3 separate regions of the Homo sapiens genome follow, and regions 1 and 3 are each linked to region 2. The links are contacts of gene promoters, found by promoter capture Hi-C in blood cells and fetal thymus (Javierre and others, 2016). All regions are on one chromosome and are shown on one strand. Each heading gives the region's core, a stretch centred on a gene start or on the middle of the fragment in contact. The rest is flanking DNA. Distances are from core to core; before and after follow the strand shown.

Region 1 (4,197 bases), core at 1,209-3,708, 150 kb after region 2:
GATATTAAACTGGGCCTTTGAACATGTTGACAGAAATTGAGGTCTTTAGTGTTTTTAGCCAAATTATCCATTTGTTAATCTTTAATTTGTGGAGTAGTTTTACTTTTATAGAGAAAATCAGTAGAAAATAAAGATAGAACTCATATACCACCTTTCTCTCTCCCATTCAGTTTTCCCTATTATTAAACATCATGTGAATGTGATACATTTGTTATAATTGATGAGCCAATATTGAAACAATATTATTAACTAAAGTTCATAGTTTACATTAGAATTTACTCTTGGTATTATACATTTTATAGATTTGACAAATATATAATGACATGTATCCACCATTACAGTGTCACCATACAGAATAGATTCATGGCCGTGAACATTTCTTTTGTCCAATCTATTCATCCTTCTCTTCCTTCTCCAGTCCTGAAACCCTGACAACCACTGATCTTTCTTTTTATTGTGTTTTGCCTTTTCCAGAATGTTTATAGTAGATATCAAACAGTATGTAGCCATTTCAGATTGGCGTATTTGACTTAGCAATATGCATTTTATTTTCCTGTCATTTATTTTTATCATTAAGTAATATCCCATTGTATGATTTACCACAGTTTGTCCACTCACCTACTGAGGGACATCTTGGTTATTTTGGCAATTATAAGGAAAACTATTATAAACAGTTGTATGTAGGTTTTTGTGTTGATACAAATTTCCAACTGATTTGGTTAAATAATAAGGAGTGTAATTGCTGGAGTGTAAATTGTCAGGGTATGTTTAATTTTGTAAGAAATTGCCAACCAACTTCCAAAATAGCTGTGCCATTTCGCATAACCAGCAATGAATCAGAGATCCTGTTGCTCCATGTCCTCGCCAGCTCCATGTTCTTACCAGCATTTGCTGTTGTCAGTGTTCTGGATTTTAGCCATTCTCACGGATGTGTAGTGGTATCTCATTACTGTTGTAATTTGCAACTCCCTAATCACATATCATGCAGAGCATCTTTCCATATGCTTAACTGCCATCGGTATATCCTTTCTGGTGAGGTATTTGTTCAGTTCTTTTGCCTATTATTAAATTGATTTTCTTTTGTTAAGTTTTAAGAGTTCTTTGTATATTTTAGATTCCAGACCTTTATCCAATAGGCATTTGCAAAGATTTTCTCCTCGTCTGTGGCTTGTCTTTTTATTTTCTTAATAGTCTCTTTTGCATTGCATAGGTTTTTAATTTTAATGAAGTCCAACTTACACATTTTTGCTTTAATGGATCATACTTTTGGTGTTATATCTAAAAAGTCTTTTCCAAATCCAAGGTCACCCAGATTTTCTCCTATGTTATATTTTTGGAATTTTTTAGCTTTTTGTTTTACATTTAGGTCAATGATTCATTTTGAATTAATTTTTATGAAGGATATAAGGTCTGTGTCTAGATTCACTGTTTTGCATGTGGATATCCAGTTGCTCCAACACTGTTTTTTGAAAATACTATTCTTTCTCCTTGAATTACCTTTTGTCCTTTATCAAAGATCACTTGACTATATTTATATGGGTCTGTATCTGGGCTCTCTATTTCTGTTGCATTGATCTATTTATCTATTCTTTCACAAATACCACACTATCTTCATTACTTTAGCATGGTAGTAATTGCACTGTAGTAAAAAGCATTGAAGTCAGGTATAAGCTTAAGAATCAGTTTGTTCATATCCACAAAATAACTTGCTGGGATTTTGACTGGGATTGCTTTTAAGATCCTAGAGATATCTTTTTGATTTTGATTAGGATTTGCTTTTAAGCTACCAGGGAAAAACTGATATCTTAAAAATATTGACTTTTCCTAATTATAAACGTGGGTTATCTCTCCATTTATTTATATCTTTTTTGATTTTTTTCATCAGAGTTTTGTAGTTTCCTTATATAGATATTTTATGTATTTTGCTAGATTTCTACTTAAGTGTTTCATTTTTATGAAGTCTAATTATTTTAACAGCCTAAAAATAATCTTTTTGTGTGGTCCTTAGACCGGCAGTACCATCATGACCAGCACCAGCAGAAAATTATTGGAAATACTGGTCCTTGTACCCATCCCAGACTTATTGGGGACTTAAATGTTGAAATGTATGCGTTGATCAATATTCATTTTTATTAGGGGCATGATGGTAAGATGGGAATTCTGTTTTACTTTTCTCCATCAGATGACTTTTTGTGGGCTTCTCAGTTTTGTTAAAGCTATTTATTCCAACAGCCAGAACTAATTTACCTATAAAATCCCTTTCTTTTCAACAGTGTGGTACTGACTTCTCAAAATACTGCTCATAGAATCTAGACTCCTAGAGAAGTAGGAATGAAGGCAGGACTTGGAGGTAGGGGAATTAGAGAATTAAGGCTCTAATTCTGGATCTGTCACTAACTTGTTGACTTCAGATTAATTACTTCATTTTTCTGGGCTCCTTTTTCTTATTTGTAGAGTGAGGAAAATAATCCCCATCTCTTATGGTTGTTTAAAGTGCTCCAAATAACATAGTAAACATGGACGTGTTTTATAAGGGGAAAATACTGATTATGTAAGCATGGTTTTTAGTTATCTTTAGTTACTCACAGGATTCTGCTTGTGGAAATATGATTTGGGAATTTTCTTAGTTTAAAATATTTGCTTTTAAATGTACTAAGAAGAGACCAATATGTGTGGTTTCCCTGGACCCTCTTAGATGGCCCCCTTGCTAATACACAGTCTACTAAATGTTCTTCTCTGCCCACAGGGTTTGTGGACTGCTGCCTATGTTGTTTTCAAAGGCATTTGCCCCCATTTCATTCAGATAGCACTAGAAAGCTCAGCTGTACTTCTCTTTAGCCCTAGTTGTTTCTCCATCTCTTTTATTTACCCAATAACAAAGCCCTCACATATTGAAGTAGTATTCATCTTTTGAGATGTTGTTTTTCTCACCCTTCCTGCTGATACTTTGCCACATGACTGACTCATTTTCTTCTGTCTTTAATTATGTTGTGCCCTTTTGTCCCAACAACTTTTCAATCGTATATTGAGTGTTTGCTCCCTATTTCCCACTTAATTCCAGGAATGCTGAGATGGTTAGGCTTAATGAGTGCCTTTCACCCCATGCCAGGAATTCATTGCTTGATTATAACTTTTCCATTTCCTGGCTTTGTAGCAAAAGGACCCCTCTACCCCAGTCTGGATAATTTAGTGGGTCTTATATTGCATTTTATCCTTTGTAAAAGAAGAGTCCAAAGTAAGCTTTAGAATAACAGTAAGAAAGTTCACAGCACTCAAGCATGGAAATTGCCTGTGTCTGGTCATCTCCATAAATGAATATAAATTGGGGAAGGAATTATGATGGGGAGAAGTGAGGAAGGGCATCCCTGTGATGTTCTCAAAAGTATACTGTTGGGGCTGGGTGCGGTGGCTCACGCTTTTAATCCTAGCTCTTTGGGAGGCTGAGGCAGGCAGATCGCTTGAGGCCAGGAGTTCAAGAGCAGCCTGGTCAACATGGTGAAATCCCGTCTCTACTAAAAATACAAAAATTAGCTGGGCGTTATCGTGCATCTCTAGTCCCAGCTACTCGGGAGGCTGAGGTGGGAGGATCACCTGAACCTGAGGAGGTCAAGGCTGCAGTGAGCCATGATCATGCCACTGTACTACAGCCTGGGCGAGTAAGGCCCTGCCAAAAAAAAAAAAAAAAAAAAAAAAAAAAAAAAAAGAGCGGGGGAGGGCCTTGAAAAGTCTGAATTGCACACTTCTTATATGATTATGAAGCTTGCCTAGATTCCTTTCTGACTCTGAAGGGGCCTCTGTTGGCAATGTGCAAGGTCTGTTTTTGAAGACGGCCAAAAGTGACCTAAAGAGGCCCCCATAATATTTCAGCCTGTCTTTAGTGCTCTTTTTTTAAAAAAAAATTTTTTTTATTTTATTTTTTGTGACGGAGTCTCCCTCTGTTGCCCAGGCTGGAGTGCAGTGGCGTGATTTCGGCTCACTGCAGCCTCCGCCTCCTGGGTTCAAGTGATTCTCCTGCCTCAGCCTCCTGAGTAGCTGGGACTACAGGCACCCACCACCATGCCCAGCTAATTTTTGTATTTTTAGTAGAGATGGGGTTTTGCCATGTTGGCCAGGCTAGCCTGGAACTCCTGGCCTCAGCTGATCCACCCGCCTTGGCCTCCCAAAGTGCTGGGATTACAGGCGCAAGCCACTGCGCCT
Region 2 (3,658 bases), core at 421-2,920:
ATGGGTATAATAATAAAACCATCCTCATAGGGTTGTTTTGAAGATTAGTGAGATGGGCGATAGGTTGTGTGGTGGGTAGAATAATGTTTCCTCCTTCACAGATGTCCATGTCCTGAAACCTGTGGCTACGTTATCTTATGTGGCAAAATGAAATTTGCAGATGTGATTAAGGATGATGTGATGGGGGAGATTATCCTGTGGACCCAGTGTAATCATAAGGGTCCTTAAGGGGAGGCATGAGAATCACAGTGATGTAGCATGAGAAAGACTTGACTGGCCAGTGCTAGCTTTAAAGACGGAGGAAGGGAGCTATGAGCCAAAGGATGTGAGCAGCTTGAGCCGGAAAAGGTAAGGAACCAGATTCTACCCCTAGACTATCTGAAAATGAACACAACCCTTCTAACATCTTGATTTGATCCCAGTGAGGCCCATTTCTGATTTCTGCCTTCTGGAACTGTAGATTATAACTTTATGCTGATTTAGGACATCAAGTTTGTGGTAATTTGTCACAGCAGCAACAGGACCCTAATTCAGGTGGGTCAGCCACTATTATTCTATTTACAACCCCCTTCCGTTCTGGCTTTCTTCACAGGGCAATCTAATGTAAACACTTCTGCAGAATTAAAGGGATCTCTTTGCCCACGCACAAACTATTTTTTAGTTTTTCGAGCCTCTACCTACCCTTAGTCTCAAGACAGCTGCCTTTAAGGTAAGCTGCAAGACAATTTATAACATCCTATTCTTAGACTTTCCACTTACACATGGAAAATCATATGCATTATCGGCGTCTGCCACAAAAGCCATGCTCTGAGGTCCTATTCAGGAAAATATTAACTCTGAATTATGGCCTCCCTTTCTTTGGCAGGGGGCACTGAGCTTCACGGAGACCCTAGAGTAGGAATCAACCCTTCAGGTCGAAGGCCCAAGGGAATTAGAGCACTTAGAGCAGGAGACATGGGAAAAGAAAGAGGAAAAGAAGTTGGTAGGTCCGAAGGAGGCTGGAAAGAGGGGAAGGCAAAAGAATACACAACCCAGCCGAATCATGGGAATTGAGAGATGGCTTCCTGCAATCTAGTCTTGCGGGTTCTTGCTCTAGTTTCGGAAACTTCCCCCGCAGAGTCCAGCGCCGCGCACCTGCCCCTTGGGGCCGGTCCCTGCGCAGGAGCCTGCGGCAGGCTGGGAATGCCGTTCTGGGAGAGCAGCCTCCCAGGCGGGGTGGTGGGGAGACTGCAGGGAGGAGTCTTGGGGAGTGCAAACGGAAAGACTACATCTCCCAGGCCGCCACGCTTTCCAGCTGGAGTCCTAGGGCGCTGACTGCTCCCCAGTTTCCGTAGGGAAGCGCTGGGCTACCGCGGCTATTGTGCGTCGCGCTCTCGCCCTCCTCTTCCCGCTGCAGTGTCTATGGAGCGAGGCTACGTTTCATTGCCGCCCTGGCTTAACCCTTCCGGCGCCTAAAAGGACGGCCGGCCGGCCGGCTCCCTTGCACCAGGAAGAAGTCTTAGCAGCCAGCGGGCCCTGGTCAGGAAACTCTAAGGTACAAGGAAAACAGTTGAGGAAGGAGCCAGAGCGCTCCGGTTTGGTCCTCGGGCTTCGCTGGGGCGGGGCGCAGGCGTTGGCTTTAAGAAAGGGGAGGGGACAGTGCAATCCGGGTTGCCCGCGGAGTTCGGCCAAGGAAGTCTTCCGCTCGCTCCGGAGCGAGGAGCCTGTAGAGAGGCTGTTCCCAGCTCCAGCTCTAACCTCGCCTACACCTTGGGCGGGCCCAAGTGTCACGTTTGCAATTGCTCAGGAAGGATCCGGCCCGTCTCCGGAGGCAAGTCGGGCTGCGGTTTTTGCTGCTTATCTGGGAAGGCGATGCCTAAGGGACATGCTGCTTGCTAGGCAGCACCCTGCCGGGATCCGACTGCGATAGTTAGCTCTCCCTGGCCCTGAAGCCATCGCCGGGGCGCCTGTTCTCTGTCCGGACCAGCCAGCGCTCCTCAGGAGTCTCACTGAAACAGGTACCTGTCCTCCAAAGGGACGGAGGCTATGAGCTTCCTTAAGCGGGTCGCGCGCTCAGTCCGTCCCCTCTACTTCCTCTACTGTGCCATTGATGCTCTCGGTCTTTGTGTCTTTCCCCTTTCCCCCTACTCCCGGCCATCAGAACCATGGGTCATCCCCCGCTGGAGTTCAGCGACTGCTACCTGGACAGCCCCGATTTCCGCGAGAGGCTCAAGTGTTATGAGCAGGAACTGGAGAGGACCAACAAATTCATCAAAGACGTAATCAAAGACGGCAACGCGCTTATCAGCGCTATGAGAAGTAAGTGCAAGGCTTCGATGAGCTGTTTCTCTGAGCTGGTGTGTCTGGCCTTTAAGCCTTTCCACACCACCAGGGGAAGGGAGATTGCAGGGTGACTCCCAGCCCAGATCTCTGAGGCAAATGGGTTTCCCACACTTGGGGAGTGGAGATAGTAGAAGTGGAAAGTGGTGGATACAACCAGAACTTTGGGCCTTTTCCTTTAGTGGTTTTGACCTTATAAGACGTGATCCGTAGCTGTGCCAGGGACCCTCTTGCTCAGCAATTACCCTTACTTGGCAGATGATTGTTCTTAAGGGACAATCTGCTGTACTGTTAGACATATTCAGCACCCCTGTCTGGGGCAAAGTGACATCCAAGCTGACCAAGGAACTGCCCCAGCACCTCCTAAACAATTGGGGATTAAGGTCAGCAGCTTGAATAATAATTTTGTCCTGGTCTCTGGTTGCTACAGATAAGTGTGGGGGGCAGTAAAAAATTCGCCATGGCAAGTTATTTTTTAAGGAAAGCACCTTTGCCCCAGTGAATTATTTTCTTTATCACACTGAGCTATGGTTTAGGTCAAGGTCAGTCTAAGTTCAGGATTATTGGATGGCTTCACCTGCCACTGAATTCTGCTTGAGTGTGGAACAAAGAGCTGACTACTTAGTCCCTGCCACAAGGGGCCCAGCCCCCAGGGAGTAAAATAGGGATAGGGTTGGGGGCTGCTGGGCTGAAGGAACTTCACCTAGCTTCGCTTTTCCAGTGCTCACAGCTGACTCAGCTGTGGGAAGCTCTCTCCTTCCCCCATTGTGTGTGGAGGTTTTTTTTCTGCTTGTTGGTAGGAGGCTTGGAGTAAAAGAAAGAATAATAAACATCCCCAACGAGAGTGCAGGCAAGCCAACCCTTTATGCCAAAGCATATACACAGAAGAATGGAGGGTAATGATTGGGTGGAGTGATAATTAATTTTTTCTCTTGGCTGAAAGATGATTGTGAAAAATAAACTCAGAGTCATTGGCAAGTATGTCCTATATGGTTATAACTTTGTTTTGAGTGAATTTATCACCAAATACAGGGTCTAGGACCAGTGTGGCAACCTTCTTAGGCGGATGCAGTCAACCAAGAGCAGGGAGAAAGAAAGATTTGAAAGTGGTAGTGCGAGGCTGGGCGAGGTGGCTCACGCCTGTAATCCCAGCACTTTGGGAGGCCAAGGCGGGTGAATCACCTGAGATCAGGAGTTCGAGACCAGCCTGGCTAACATGGTGAAACCCTGTCTCTACTAAAAATACAAAAAAAAAAAAAAAATTAGCTGGGCATGGTGGCAGGCACCTGTAATTCCAGCTACTCAGGAGGCTGAGGCAGGAGAATCACTTGAACCCAGG
Region 3 (4,036 bases), core at 734-3,233, 240 kb after region 2:
ATTTTTGTAGAGATGGGGTTTCATGATGTTTGCCAGGCTGGTCTTAAACTCCTGACCTCAAGTGATCTGCCTGCCTTGGCCTCCCAAATTGCTGGGATTACAGGCATGAGCCACCACGCCTGGCCTGTTCAAGTATTTTCTAGCAATCTTGGCAAAGCAATTATGTTTAGCCCACTTGGCTATCTTTTTAACATCCTGGAGTTTCTAATCATTTTTAATGCCTATCTGGGGAAAGATATTTAATATTATGTTCTCTGTTTTCCTATATTGATTGACAATAGCCATGGATCTTTCTGTTTATCTTCTTTTGTAGATCTACCACAGCCCTATAACAAAACAGCAAGAAAGTGAGTCACTTAAGTTTTTGGTCTACTAGCATTATAAACTGCCAGCTGTCCGATTCATAGTAAATACCATCATTAATGATGTGTACTACTAACGCAAGTCTGAATATGGATGCCTTTGTGTGAAATAAAATTCAGCCATATATTTTTTAAATGTGTCTGGTAATTGAACTAAGGTAGACACTTGGTGTTAGCTTACATCGTGGGTAGAGAAACATATCCTTCCTGTTCTGGAAGCATGATAGAAATTGTATTTTTAGGCTAACATTTCACATATGACTTTGCTCATGCTGAAAGCAGACAATTCAAAGGGCTAAATATAAGTATTTTGTGTTATAAGAGTTAAAATGTTAAACCTCCCCTGAAAAAATGACTCTTTCCATTTAAGGGTGACTAGAAATGAGCAACTAAAAACCCTTAGCTCTCTCAATGCAGTCCCTTTGCATGGTCATTAAATGTTTAATAGGTGACACCTGTTGCAGCAGGATCTAACTCTTTTCCTTTGCTTGAAACAGTGGAGCTAAATGAAGTGGGCTTCAAGTTTGTCAGGAAGTGCATCAATATTATTGAGACCAAAGGTAAGATCTGAACCATAGTCTTGGCATTGTCTGAATCTCGTCACTCTGATTTTATCCTGGGCAATTTCTCTGAAGTAGCGTTTTAGGAATGAAGACTGTTTATAAAGCTTGTGTAGTAGATGCAAGCTAGAAAATTTCAGAAAATTCTAAACTAGTGGTATGCAAGCATATTTGGATAATTTGGATTCCTGCTTTTAAAGAGCTTATAAGTTTATAAAGTATTCTCAAACAGTACCTGGCACTCCTTAAGCAGTGTCATGATGGTTCTATCCTAAATGATCAAGAGTTCAATTTCTGCCACAGTACATACTGGTATGAAAATTGATGGGGCAGAGCCAAACTCAGGGAGATGTGGAATCAGCATTCTTCCTGGTTGCCGATACTCCCTGGTTTCCTTCTGAGGATATTTAGACTGTGGGCAAGTGTGGTATGTGAATCAAGTCTCTTTGTTCTTTGAAATGTTTTTTTAGTCTTTCTTGGTGCAGGAAATGGCCTTTTGTTTCACAGCTGCCTTACTCCAGCCCTCTCGTGATTTATATCACTGCTTAGAAGCAACTTGAGGGTTGATCCTTCCTCCTTTTTCAATTGAATGAACTTCTTTCTAAGATGGCAGCACCATTCTCAGCTTTCTGCTGCCGCCCAAACTAAGCATATGCTTCTATTTACTATAGAGTTTGTTTTCTTCTCTTCAGATTAATGAGGGTTTGGTACACTCCAAATGAAAGGATGGATAATTTGGAGAGATGCTGTAGGACTATTCCCCTGTTACAGGGAAGGCTGGAGAACTTGGAGTATGTAGTGTGACCCCTTCCTATCTGAATTGACCCTAGTGTACCAAGGGGAGATGACAACTCTAGCTATACAAGTGAAATTAACCTGATTTTTTCCTCCACTAGGGATCAAGACAGAAGGGTTGTACCGCACTGTGGGCAGCAATATTCAGGTTCAGAAGCTGCTGAATGCCTTTTTTGGTAACAATTTTACTTTGATAATTCTTATTGGGAGTACTTTATGTGTTACAAAGAAATGTGACTGGAAGAGAAAGGAGACACTGCTAAAATGTGGTAGAATAGTTGAAAAAAGTATTTTCTAAAGTAAAACATACACATACTTGCCCACCCTGGGCAGAGTCAATCGTACCTTGAAAATGGCTGTTATCTCTCCTTCCTCGTATCCCATTCACTCCAGAAACCCTCAGCAATACAACTTCTTTCCCTACATCTCAACTGGAACTGTGTGGCCAGGCTTAGTCGGTATCTTCTTACCAAATCCAGTGAATACTTTTGAGTTTGTGTCTTACTTGATCTCCTTGTTGACCACTTTCTCTTTTTTGAAACTTTCTCCTTACATGACTTCGTGACTTCCATAACACATCAGCACTCTTCTGATTCTTCTCACATCTTTTTTTTTTTTTTTTGAGACAGGGTCTAGCTCTGTCGCCTAGGCTGGAGTGCAGTGGCATGATCATGGCTCACTGCATCCTCAACCTGAGCCTCCTGGGTAGCTGGGACTATAGGCGTGTGCCACTACACCAGGCTGATTTTTAATTTTTTTGTAGTGATGGGGTCTCACTATATTGCCTAGGCTGGTCTTGAACTTCTGGCCTTCAATCATCCTCTTGCCTTTGCCTCCCAAAGTGCTGGGATTACAGGCATGAGCCACAATGCCTGACCTCTTCTAACATCTTATAGGATTCCTTTTCAATAACTTGCTGAACCTTTATCTTTCTGTTTTTTACACCTTGACTGTGTGTTTCCTACAGTTCTATCTTTGTTCTTGGTTTACTTCTTTTTTTTTAATATGTTTTTCTATTGATTGATTTTTTTTTATTCTGGTTATGGCTCACATTTTTGTTTCTTAAAAAACATTTCTTGTAATCTTTATTGGTTGCTGGATGTTGTGACTTACTGAATGTCTTGATTTTGTTGATTTCTTTTAAAGAGGACTGAATTTTGTTTTGTGGGCAGTTATTTGTGGATCAATTTGATTTATTTGAGTCTTCTTTTTAAGCTTTGTTGGGCCAGATATAAAGTATCCACCCCCAGGTAAGGTTGTTGAGCTCTTTTTCCACATAGCTCACTCTTCTCTGGTACTGTGCCTTGCTAGTTATAGCTGCTTCAACCTTCCTAAACTTTGATCCTTATCTCTTCAGCTGAGCAAGACTTCCATGCTCAGCTTGAGTTCCCACTCCATCTGCTGCAATCTAAAAAGTGCTTTTAAGAAGCAAGCTGTGGAGAAGGTAGCAGTTATCTTGTTTGTATCCCTCTTCTCAGAGTCATAGTCCTGTTTTGTCTGTTGCTCAATAACTACATGCAGGAGTTTCCTATATACTGTCCAGTTTTCTAGTTGTTACAGCAGGAAGGCAAGTCTGATACCAGTTAGTCCACCATGGCTGGCAGTGGTATTCTCTCTTTATGCTTTTTACTAGCACCTCTATGCTGACAACTCACAAAATCTCTGTTCCAGACATCATCTGATGAGTTCTAAATGCAAATATTCACTTGCCCACTGCACTTGTGCTTCTCAGTCATATTAAGGTCATGGCACATATCAGAATGATCATCTTTATATAGCATGCTCGGGTAAATGGACATCACTGAGGCAAGAAGCCCTAAAGGCTGAGGGAGTCAATATTGGAGTCTCTGCACAAGCTCTCTTTACATAGATGGTTCACAGGTATCTACCTGCATTTCTCTCCCTGCAAACCTACCCTTCTTCCTTTCGTGGGTGGCAGTGAAGCATCTTGTAAGCTGAGTTTTCACAGTGTCAGAGAACAAATTGAGTGTGGAAAACTGCAGTTTGGATAAAATACATATTTTTTGGTCCTTACTGTGATGCATAGCTAATCTCTCACAAGCCTGCAGGTCTGACAACCAACCCTACTCACATTTGAGGATGTTACAGCACTCAGTCATAGCAGGTGTGGTTTTTGAATTCCAGATTACATCATTAGTACCTCATCATCTGTTTTCATTAATCACCTTACATTCTTGACTTTTAAAAATTTGGATTGCTTATTCCTGGTCAATTTGCAACCCATCTCATTAGCTAAGGACACTTTTTCATATGTAAATCAGCTGACATCGTGGTCCAGCATATTGAATCTCTGAAAAA

What was found. The method cuts DNA at HindIII sites, captures the fragments that hold promoters and counts their contacts. A CHiCAGO score of 5 or more calls a contact.
Region 1: a fragment that was not itself captured here is called in contact with the fragment with the promoter of OPHN1 in region 2 in 1 of 17 cell types (M1 macrophages); the score reaches 5.8 in M1 macrophages.
Region 3: a fragment that was not itself captured here is called in contact with the fragment with the promoter of OPHN1 in region 2 in 4 of 17 cell types (M1 macrophages, M0 macrophages, M2 macrophages and 1 more); the score reaches 8.4 in M1 macrophages.

Annotation. Positions count from the first base shown.
Region 1 is chrX:68,278,608-68,282,804 of GRCh38, reverse strand. The region is part of intron 4 of OPHN1 (oligophrenin 1); the gene reads left to right. Among named protein-coding and RNA genes, the nearest start is that of OPHN1, 150 kb to the left of the region's middle. The HindIII fragment of the contact is 1,569 bases long and covers 1,674-3,242 here.
Region 2 is chrX:68,431,507-68,435,164 of GRCh38, reverse strand. It overlaps OPHN1 (oligophrenin 1), which reads left to right and starts at 1,670. Exons shown (of 25, transcript NM_002547.3): 1 at 1,670-1,997; 2 at 2,141-2,298. The coding sequence starts at 2,145. The HindIII fragment of the contact is 12,772 bases long and covers 1-3,658 here.
Region 3 is chrX:68,190,776-68,194,811 of GRCh38, reverse strand. It overlaps OPHN1 (oligophrenin 1), which reads left to right. Exons shown (of 25, transcript NM_002547.3): 13 at 314-347; 14 at 860-922; 15 at 1,819-1,893. Among named protein-coding and RNA genes, the nearest start is that of OPHN1, 240 kb to the left of the region's middle. The HindIII fragment of the contact is 1,903 bases long and covers 1,032-2,934 here.